Regions from separate parts of the Homo sapiens genome. Here all the other regions are linked to region 1. Evidence: promoter capture Hi-C in 16 types of primary human blood cells and fetal thymus (Javierre and others, 2016). All regions are on one chromosome and are shown on one strand. Each heading gives the region's core, a stretch centred on a gene start or on the middle of the fragment in contact. The rest is flanking DNA. Distances are from core to core; before and after follow the strand shown.

Evidence for each region. Contacts are between HindIII fragments. The CHiCAGO score rates a contact against its expected background, and 5 or more counts as called.
Region 2: a contact is called between a fragment that was not itself captured here and the fragment with the promoter of CERS6 in region 1, in 12 of 17 cell types (fetal thymus, non-activated CD4 T cells, activated CD4 T cells and 9 more). The highest score is 11.4, in fetal thymus.
Region 3: a contact is called between a fragment that was not itself captured here and the fragment with the promoter of CERS6 in region 1, in 1 of 17 cell types (non-activated CD4 T cells). The highest score is 5.1, in non-activated CD4 T cells.

Annotation. Positions count from the first base shown.
Region 1 is chr2:168,454,252-168,457,802 of GRCh38, reverse strand. CERS6 (ceramide synthase 6) reads right to left here and starts at 1,531. Exons shown (of 10, transcript NM_203463.3): 1 at 1,185-1,531. The coding sequence starts at 1,354. LOC102724081 (a long non-coding RNA gene) reads left to right here. Exons shown (of 4, transcript XR_002959433.2): 1 at 1-772. RefSeq lists silencers at 840-899, 1,350-1,479, 1,600-1,689, 1,720-1,939. The HindIII fragment of the contact is 1,842 bases long and covers 86-1,927 here.
Region 2 is chr2:168,574,724-168,578,274 of GRCh38, reverse strand. All of the region lies in intron 3 of CERS6 (ceramide synthase 6), which reads right to left. Among named protein-coding and RNA genes, the nearest start is that of MIR4774, 6.4 kb to the left of the region's middle. The HindIII fragment of the contact is 3,602 bases long and covers 1-3,336 here.
Region 3 is chr2:168,520,646-168,524,196 of GRCh38, reverse strand. The region is part of intron 1 of CERS6 (ceramide synthase 6); the gene reads right to left. Among named protein-coding and RNA genes, the nearest start is that of MIR4774, 61 kb to the left of the region's middle. The HindIII fragment of the contact is 1,803 bases long and covers 1,002-2,804 here.

The DNA of each region.
Region 1 (3,551 bases), core at 282-2,781:
CAAATGACTCAAAAGACGCGTTCTGCCACCCTCAACAGTCGTTTTCAGGCAAAGAGGAACAGCAAATGAGGTACCAGCAAAAGCTTAAGAAACAAAACCAAGGTGAGTTGAAGGCGGGGAAGAAAGGCGGAGTGGAAGCGAGAAATGCAATCTAAACTCTACTTTGTGATCTAAGAAATTCAGCCTTTACTGATGAATTGGGCAGAGGAAGGGGAGGGTACAAGAAAGGGGAAGATAATATTTTCTGTTACGAAAAAAAAAGTGTGCTGCTGTCCTGGTTTTCTTTCAGTAGCACCCAGAGAATGCATGGCAGGCACAATCTAGTTTCGCGACGAAAACGAATTCCATGAGAATAACACAAGTTTGTATGTGACACAATGGAGATATCCAACCAAACCGAGGAACTATACAATTGCATGACAATTCCTCAAAATTTTAAGTGCCTTCGAGTACCAAAAAAGAAGTTTATGATTATTCACAGGACAGGGTTATCAGTTTAATATCACCATTTTGCAGGATGTGGACCCGTCCTGTCACATCCTCTTTTAAAGAAACCGCTAATAACCTGAAATGCTATTATCCCCTATTTGCCAGGACTGTGGGCCTGATAGTTTCACGGATAAAAACCAAACAGCGACCAGAAGCCAGGAAGTCCCTGGCGAATTCTTTTGAAGCACAACCCCTACAATCCGTGTGCCGGAGCATAAAGATTGAAGTGTGCGCGGTTCCTCCTCCCTCCGGGCCGCGCGTCCGGAACGTTCCTGGCTGTCAGGTGGGTGGCGCGGGCCCCGGCGGGAAGCCCTGCCTGGCAGCCTTGCGTGGCGCGCCGGCGGAGAGGGGCGAGCCCCGCGGAATGCGGCGGGTCCTGAGCCCGACCACCGCTCACCTTTGTTCGCCTGCCCTTGCCGGGAGGAGAGCAGGGCCCAGGAGGAGGGCAGGGGGCGACCCTAACGCTCCGCGGCTCCTCCCCGGCGCCCGGGAGGAAATCCGTGGCAAGCCAGACCCTTTCTGGCTCCCAGAAAGCCAGCGGGGCAGGGGGGTCAGCAACCCCTCCCCGAACACAAAGGTTGGGAGGCGTGAACGCGAGCGTTGGGGGCGCGGGGGCGTGCGCCAGAGAGCGCGCGAGTGTGTGCGCGCGTGTGTGTGCGCAGGGGGAGGGGAGGAGGGGCTTCAGCCCTTCTTACCTCTCGAAGATGAGCCGCACCATGAAGATACAGAAGGCCAGGGGAAAAGCGAGATAGAGGTCCTCAGCCTGCGGGAAGGTGGCCTCCTCCGTGTTCTTCAGGTCCGCCCAGGTGACATTGTGCGGGAGCCAAAACCTCTCGTTCCAGAACCAGGCTAAGATCCCTGCCATCTTGCTTTGTCCACTCCTGTCCTGCGGCACCCGCAGCCCGCCAAGCTCTCCACCGCGCAGGGCGCCCGGGGATGCGCGCCCGGCTGGCCCCGAGCCTGTGCCGCCGCCGCCGCTGCTCCCGCCCGCCGCCGCCGCCTCCTCCGCGGCCGCTGCTCTCGAAGGCTCGCGGCGAGCCCCGGTTCTCTCCTCCCTCTGGCCGCGCTGGGGAAAGGGGCCGCCTTGCCCGTCACATGGCAGCTCGGGCCGCCCGCCCTGATTGGCTCGTCTTCGCGTCAAACAGCGAGGCACACACGCGGCCAACTCGCCCACACCCGCAGGGCAGGGCGCAGTCGCTGCGCCCTGGGCGCAGGGGCACCGCTCCGGGGAGTGTCGCCCGCCCCTGCTCTCACCGCTCTTTCGCTTTGCGCTTAGGGCGACGACCTAAAGTCGACCCCCCAAATCCGCCCTAGCCCCCTGGCTGGCTCGCACATGCTCAGAATGCTGGCTCCTGCCCCGCTGGGGTTTCAGGGCTCTCAGTCCTCTTCCCGTGCGCCCGGAGGCGGTGGGTCAGCAGGTAGGGGCTGCCGCCAAGCTTCAGAACCAGCCCTGCTCCAGGAGGACAGCAAAAAAAAAAAAAGGGGGGGGGAGGGGGAGGGGTAAAGAGCAAAGGAGGAAGTGGGAGGGAAAGGATCCTCCACTCCCGCGCTTGGAGAGGCAGGGTGAAAAATCAGGAACTGAGGCAGGATGGTTTGGCAAGAGCCTTCTGCCTCTGCCCCACGCCTGCCTTTCCCCAATCTTTGACTTTCCGGTCTTTTATACTGCTGCTTCTCATCAAAGTAGCTCCCCCAGGGAACAAGCCCCCCTATATTGATTTATGAGGTGGTACAAAAAATTAGGCACTTAATTGCTATTTGATTATTAATTGCTACTTGATGACGATGATGATGATGATGATGATGATGATAGCAACTGCAGCGTTCTGTAAAACCACCCCTCTCAACTAACCTCTCTGAAAAGGCTGCTAGACCACATTTTGACCTGGCACATCATGAGAACCTCCACTGTGCTACTCGGCAGGCTCATTATTTCTGCCTTTTGAATCTAAAACCTTTAAGGCATTAGGCCTGTGAGGCCTAACCCAGGCACCTTCCCTCCCGCAATGCATTTCCCCATTGATACAGGAGCCATGTGTGAATTCATTCCATGGCCCATGTATACATGGTTCTGGGGCATTTTTGTTCATTTTTCTCACATTCATTTTCTGCCTGGTGCTGCCAGTAGGCTATACTAAACCTTTCCAGTGGGCATATAACCGCACACACACACACACACACACACACAGAGAGAGGGAGTTTCTTTTACTCTTCCCTCCCCTCTTTCCACTCTATCTCTTGAAAGTGAAACTGAAGAATGGCCTATACTGGTGCTTCCAATTTCTCTCCCCTCATTTTCTTTTGAACTTCCATTTGGACATTTGTCTCCTCTGCTGCATTGAAACTGCCCAAGGTCACCTGTGATCTTCATGCTGCTAAACACAAAGGTCAGTTCTTATCTTAGTCCAGGCTGCTTAGACTAGGTGGCTTAAACAGCAGAATTTATTCCTCACGGTTCTGGAGGCAGGGAAGTCCAAGATCAACATGCAGGCAGATCCAGTGTCTGGCAAGGATCCTCTTCCTGGTTTGAAAACAGCTGTTTTCTTGTGTATCCTCACATGGCAGAGAGCACAGAAAGAGGAAACACAGATTAGTGCCCTATCTTCTTATAAGGGCACTAATCCCATTCATGAAGGTTCTACCCTCATTAGCTAATTACCTCCCAAAGACTCTGTCTCTGAATACTATCACATTGGGAACTAGGATTTCAGCATATGAATTTTGGGGGACACACACATTCAGTTCATAGCAGTTCACAACACCTCTGTCAGTAGCATTTGGCCCAGTTGTCAGGTCGTGTGTCTTAAAACATTCTTGACTTGGCTTCCAGAAACCTCACTCTTCTGGGTTTCTTCCTCCTTCATGGCCATTTCTTCTCAGTCTCCTTCCTGGTTACTCCTCACTTTTCTAACCCCTAGAAGTTATAGTGGCCTAGGAGTCAGTCTTTTTTCCTCTTCACTTTTCTATCTGAATGTATTCATTTGGTGATTTTATCCAGTCTCGTGGCTTTTAATGACATCTGTATGCCCTCCAATGTCATGCTAATAGCTCCCATATTTATATCT
Region 2 (3,551 bases), core at 286-2,785, 120 kb before region 1:
ATCCTCAGTATCTTCAAAAGCTACAGACTGACTGAGGGACATAAGAGACTTGCCCTCTCTCTTCCTGTAAACAATGTGGAAATGATTAAAAAAAAAAAAAAAGTTTACTGGTTGATATCAGTTCCACAGCCTGGTCTGACAAATGCCTGCAGCTAATCTGCACCAAATATCTGAGCGAGGGCTCCAAACCTCCCAACGCTGCTTTCAACCTAGTTTCCCATTCCTATAGTGATTCATCACACTGTGAAGTTTCCACCCCACTCCTGGGCTTTTGGACTGGGACATAGTGACTTGTGAGTGACCGCACCCTACTGGCACCTACACCTCTTATTCCCCAGAAACGACAATGTACTTGTGTCCCTCGCCCTCACTATCTGCCACCCACATGCAGATAGGCCAAACAAAGAAATTAATCAATACACCTCCAGAAAATTGTTTCACACTTTCTCCCCACTCCTCAAAATGCTAATACTTCCTCCTCCCTCTTCACTCTCCTCAGATGCCCATTTCCTATTTCACTGGGATGATGGAGACAACCAGGAAAGACTTACCTGACTCTGCCTCCCTATGCCCCTGTCTGGACTTCCCTCCTGTTACCACAAATGAATGCTCCGTGCTCCTCTCTAAGGCAACTCCTGACTGTGCTCCACACCCCAGCGCCTCCTGCCTGGGCAAGGCTCGGCTCTTGCCATTTCTCTCCTCTCAGGCATCATCCATTTTTCCCTCTTTGCTGGATCATTCCCATCAGTATACAAACAAGCCATCATTTTTCCCTTGTTAAAAAAAAATCCTTAACCCCAAATTCCTCCTCTAATGACTATTCTCTTTTTCTGGACCTCTCTTTTATAACAAACCTCTCGAGAGTTCCCACATTGCAACTTCTCTCCTCCATTTTGTCTTAAGACCTTCCACCCAAACTGCTCTTGGCAGACACCGAATGACTTGCATGTTGCTACATGGACTGTGAGTAGTGACACAGCCAACGATGAATGTCTTCTTCTCTTGGCCTCCTCACTCACCTATCTCCTTCACAGCCTCCTTTATCAGCTCCTCCTCAATTCCATAACCTCTCATACGAGGCTGTCTCAAGCCTCCATCCTCAGATGTTTCCTCTACTTACCCTCACTCTCTTTGAGATCTCGCACCGTCTCGAGGCTTTACACACTATCTATTCACCAACAACTGCCAAGTCCACACCTCCTCCCTGAACTGTGCATTCACCTATCCAGCTGCCTACAGCACTCCTCTGCATAGATATCTAATAGATACCTCCAGATTCACATGACCAAAATCAAAATCCTGGACTTCTCCCCAGGTTTGCTCCTCCCTCACGCTTCCTCAACCCACTCAAGGGCAACTCCTTCTGTCTAACTGCCTAGGCTAAAACCCAAGCGTCATTCTTGAATTCTCACTTTCTCTCATACCACACAACCAATCTCCCAGAAGATTCTATTTATCTTCAAAATAAAGTGTAATCTGAGGCCTCCACTCAAACAGTTCATGAAAAACATATGTGTATGTATGTATGTATGTGTGTATAGGTGTGTGTGCACACTTGTACAGAAGGAACAGAAAAAACATCAGAGCAAGTATGGCATCATGTTAACAGTGGTGAATCTGGGTGGGTTTATACAGGATTTCTTTATACTATTCTTCAAACTTCTCTATAAGTTTTCAAAATAAAAAAATTGTTTCAAAACAAAAAAATTAAGAGAACTTTAATGTACAAATCTTGATTGGACTGTATCTGGAAAGAAATAGAAATATAAAAGAAATTGAAGGGAAGATAATGGGGAGAATTTGTCTACTGTGTCCTTCCCCAGTGAAATGTAAACCATATCCCAAGCACTTACAAGACCGCTGGGCATAAAGTAGGCACTCAAAATGTATTTGGGCAGTAAATGAAACAAACACATTGCAAATCAGTCCTAGGTGCTGGGTTCTCAAAAAAGGATAAGACTGGCTCTTTGTCATGAAGGAATTTACAGTCTGCAGATAAAAAAGAAATGTTAAGCAAGAGCATTGGGCTGTTGCCATTACTATTAAAGGGGCACACAAATGAGGGGACCATCAACTCTGCTTGGGAAAAAGAGAATGGGGGTAGGAGGCGTCCTTCATGGAGCAGGGGAGGCCACACAGCTTATGATTTGCTCTCCTCTGATGTCCCTGTCTCCTATTTCACTGGGATGATGGAGACAACCAGGAGAGACTTACCTAACTCTACCTCCCTATGTCCCTGCCTGGACTCCCTTCCTGTTACCACAAATAAACGCTCTGTGCTCCTCTCTAAGGCAACTTCATTAGACACTAAGTACCATTCCTGGCATAGAGTCGTCACCCAGTAAATATCCACGGTTTCCTAAATGAAGGTGAACTGAGTCTTAATGGAGAGGCAGGTATTTGTCACAGTAGGGGAAGGGCATCCCAGGTTGGGGCAGGTGGGCAGAACTTGAGCAAAGGCCAAGGGGTGAGAAGAAGCATGGCAGCCCCACCTGACAGCACAAGCCAGAGAGAAATGGATTGTTATAAATTCTCATAAAATTCTTAGGAAAAGAATAAAAACTTGTTCAAGAAGGGAGTCCACACAGAGAAGGCCCTTCTTTGCTTCAGAGGCAATCACAGTGCTACTATAGTGCTATCACTAGTATAATAGCTAACATTTATTATGTGCTTACAAGGTGATATGGTTTGGCTCTGTGTCCCCACCCAAATCTCATCTCAGAATATAATCCCCACATGTTAAGGGAGGGATCTGGTGGGAGCCAATTGGTTCATGGGGGCAGTTTGCTGATAGTGAGTGAGTTCTCACGAAAGCTGATAGTTTTAAAGAGAGTGAGGAAGTGGCACTTCCTCACTCTCACTCTCCCCTTCCACCATGTAAGACGTGCCTGCCTTGCTTTCCCTTGCCTTCTGCCATGATTGTAAGTTTCCTAAGGCCTCCCAAGCCAAGAGAAACTGTGAGTCAATTAAACCTCCTTTCTTTATAAATTACCTAGTCTCCAGTAATATCTTTATAGCAGTGTGAAAACGGACTAATACATAAGGCACCAGTGCTCTATGTGTTTTGAACAATTCTAATGGCCCCATTTTAAATTCAAGGTACTATTTTGACTCAGGTTAAGTTTCAAGAAATCGAGGCTGAGGAGGCTGGTTAGTGCTAGAGACAGGCAGGTAGAGCTGGCAGTCAGAGCTGTCCTCTTGGCCTAAGATAGAAACCTCCCAGTTCTACCACAAGGACCTCACCCTACTGTTTAGACAAGTAAGGAACCACAGTTTCAAATTACATGCCACTTTAAAAGTCAGAAAGCCAGAAAATCATGTTCTCAACAAGAAGCTTTTCTTTAAAGAAGGAAAAGAAGAAGAAAATAAAACTATGAGCTTTAACTCCTCCAACAAAAATCATCATATCAAATCTGCCAAATAATTATACCTTCAAACATTTGGGGATTTAATAGAAACAAAGCCCCGATAAAAGGCATGGTACTAATGTATACCCAAGAGTATTAAGCAAGCTTAGAATGGTATTATTTGATTAGGTAGGTGAATTCAAT
Region 3 (3,551 bases), core at 654-3,153, 66 kb before region 1:
CTCAAGGTCCTTTGAGACTTCCTTTTGCATAAAACACACTACCTGCTTCTATAGGTTACAAATAATAGATGTCAGACACACACACGAACTCAACATTCAACTTTAAATGCAGTCCAGGGTGGCCCTTGAATGAGTTGAACATGAAGGGGAAAAACATCAGCATGTCTACTGGAGAAGATAAGTCTATTTGCAGGAGCATCCAGCACTGCAACTGGCACAGAACAGACAAGTCTGAAGAGGACACTAAGTTATATTTTCATCCATCTACTGCTGTCTAATGCAGCACTGCAGCAACCACCATGGCATGTGTGGGCTGCAAATACTTCCCGATATGCCCACTGATTACTCTCCTAGGACACCTGCTATACAAACCCAGGGCTTCAGTCTTTGCAGAGGTCTAAAGGCCACTGCCTGTCCATCTACACCTATTGAAAATGTCAGTGAATATCACAAATAATATCTTCTCCAAGATTTTCTTGAACCTCCACGCCTCTCTCCAAATCTTCCTATAATAGTGTTGTATTTGTCACCTGCTTGACACTGTAGTTATTCCACAGATCACTATAGTCATTTGGTTATTGGCCTTCTCTCCACCAGCAGGTAGTGGGGTCCCTAATGGCCAGAGCTTGCTCTTTCTACTCTAAAAGTGCTGCACGTGCCACTGTCGTACACAGTGTGGCTCTTCCACCCAACGACCACCTCTCTTTCATTCATACAAACAAAACACCCCTTTTATTTAGGAAGGGTAATTCTGAATTATGATTCATCTCAGACAATCATGAAAATCAGATTCTTACTCTCTAAATATCTGTTTTCTCTGTTTCCCTAGCAGGTGTAGAGAAGTTTACTGGGGGTACTAGAAAGGACTGAAAAAAATCTTCTTCCCTGATAAGAGAACAACTGTTCATTTTTCCACTCAGCCTTTAACTTCTGCTTCCTTCCTTGCGGTAAAAGATAATGTCGTTTGAAGCAGGGATAATGGGATCAAGAGGTGACAAGCTTAAGGACAAAACCCAAAATGGTAGAGCAGAGAGGCAGAAAGGCTCTACGTCTCTATGGCTTTGTAAAGCTAGTGCAGCAAAACCAGAACAACTGACCTACATGCTTCTGTTATACAAGATCATCAGTTTTCACCTAGTCAGTATCAATCAGGTACTGTTACTTTCAGCCAAAAGCATTACTAATACAGCTATCAATAGTATCATTGCTGGCACATAATAAATGTTTGACTATTTATTCAGATATAACTATCTAATTGAGTTTCATCTACTTGAGTAGTTAGAAAACACACAAAAGTTCTTGTTATCTCATTGCCACCATTTTCTCTCCCTTTATTCAAAATTTCAGGGGCCAGGCACAGTGGTTCACACCTGTAATCTCAGCACTTTGGGAGGCCAAGGCCTGAGGATCACTTGAGCCCAGGAATCCGAGCCCAGCCTGGGCAACAAAGTGAGACCCTGTCTCTACAAAAAAGTAAAAATTATTTAAAAATTAGCCAGTTGCAGTGGTACATGCCAGTAGTCCCAGCTACTCAGTGGGAGGGGAATGAAACTGGAGGATCACTTGAGCCTGGGAGGTCAAGGCTGCAGTGAGCCATGATTGTACCACTGCACTCTAGCCTGAGCAACAGAGCGAGACCCTGTCTAAAAAAAAAAAATTCACCTAAGTTACAGGGAAGAGCCAATTCCTAACTTCAATGAATGCTAACACTTTTAGCTTACTAACTAAATTATTTTTTAAATAACAGGGAAAATTGTTCAGAAGAAATTACACTTGCAGTAACAAAGAGAAAAAAATTTTTAATGTTCAGCATTAAGTGAGCCCTGCTTTAAAAGGTAGTTTATAAATTACAAAATAGCCAATAGTTTATCCTAAATGAAGTAACTGGGCTATATCAGAAACCACATAAAAACCTGCAGTTCTTCAGTTCTCTACCTGCATCCACCCAGTTCTCTACCACCTGTGCCTACTACACAGATCCCCAAATCTGTGTAAATTATAATTTCCATAGGTTTGTGACTCATTTTGAGTATTCAAGACCAATGCTATAAAACTATATCCAGACCTATATAGTCGGTAAAATTTTCCAGGAATCAAAACCAAACAAAGTCACAAAAATATATCATTTGCGCAATAAATTTTCCCACTGTGTTCTCAAATCAATCACTACCCAGGCACACGAACCTTAAAGATAATACATCTACAAAAATAGGCTTTCAATGATGGAGGTGGAAAGGCAATAAAAACCTCTACATGCCTCTATTTTACTTTTGAAAAACTGCTTCTAACAAATTATAAACTTATATTTCCATTCAAAGACAATTATGCTCAGTGAAGCCCCTTAGGGCCTGAAGGTTTCTAAAGGCTATTCCATTTCTAATTTAGATCTTTCCACTGTTCCTGTCAGAAATGAAGGCTCTCTCTTGGCTCGCAGACCTTGGAAATCTTTGCAGGGGAAGCTCCCAAGCTACTGGCAGAATTATTTTCAACTTCTGGCCTTGCTAATGTCACTTATTAGTTTAACATGACAACTTCTCATCTTTCACCTCTGACTCAGTGAGAAGAACCCAAGACGTCTGTCTGGAAGTGCCTCATTTCAAATGCACCCTAGAAGCTGCATTAGGAACTCACTGAAATGCCTGGCGCAGCTGTGTTACTATCACCATCTCCTGCTCTGCCCCCTCCCTCCCCTCCTCCTCTTCTTCCACCTGGAACTTGGCCAGTTTTTCAAAGCCAGGGACACACCCTTTATCTCATGGAATCTTCATGACAAATCTATCAACTCATGACAAATCTATCAAGCTTACAGGGTAGGCGTTATCTCTCTGTTAGAGAAGAGAAAAATGCAGTCAAATTTGAAAAGTCAAATCAATAGGAACAAAAAAAGGGCTCTGGTTTCCCCACTGTCCCACACTGAGCATTAAACTGTAACGTTTCACTTACAGAACATAACTCTATCAGGCTTTATTAGGCTGGTCCTGACCCCAGCTTTGGAAACCATCTGGGATCTCTTCTGTTACTTTCCAGTATTATCACTGTACGGCGTTGTCAGTCTCAAATTCTATCAGCTCAGATTTATTCTCTGAAGGTAGAATCATTAAACCAATTCTACCAAACTTGACTTAGTAATCTATCAAAAACAGAAACGTATATGTCTATAAGAAATAGAATACAGCATTTTCATGCTTTCATAAACAAAAGCAAACAAATAATATTAATGTTGCAGGGAGGAGAAGAGTATAGAAGTCTTTCCAAAATTTATTTACAGTATTTAATTCAAAGTATACCAATTGAGCGTGGTGGCTCACGTCTGTAATCCCAGCACTTTGGGAGGCTGAGGCGGCAGATCACTTGAGGTCAGGAGTTCGAGACCAGCCTGGCCAACATGGTGAAACCCCTTCTCTATTAATAATACAAAAATAAGCTGGGTGTGTTGGTGCGTGCCTATAATCCCAGCTACTAAGGAGGCTGAGGCACAAGAATCGCTTGAACCCAGGAGGCGGAGGTTGCGGTGAGCTAAGGGTGCACCACTGCACTCCAGCCTAGGCAAC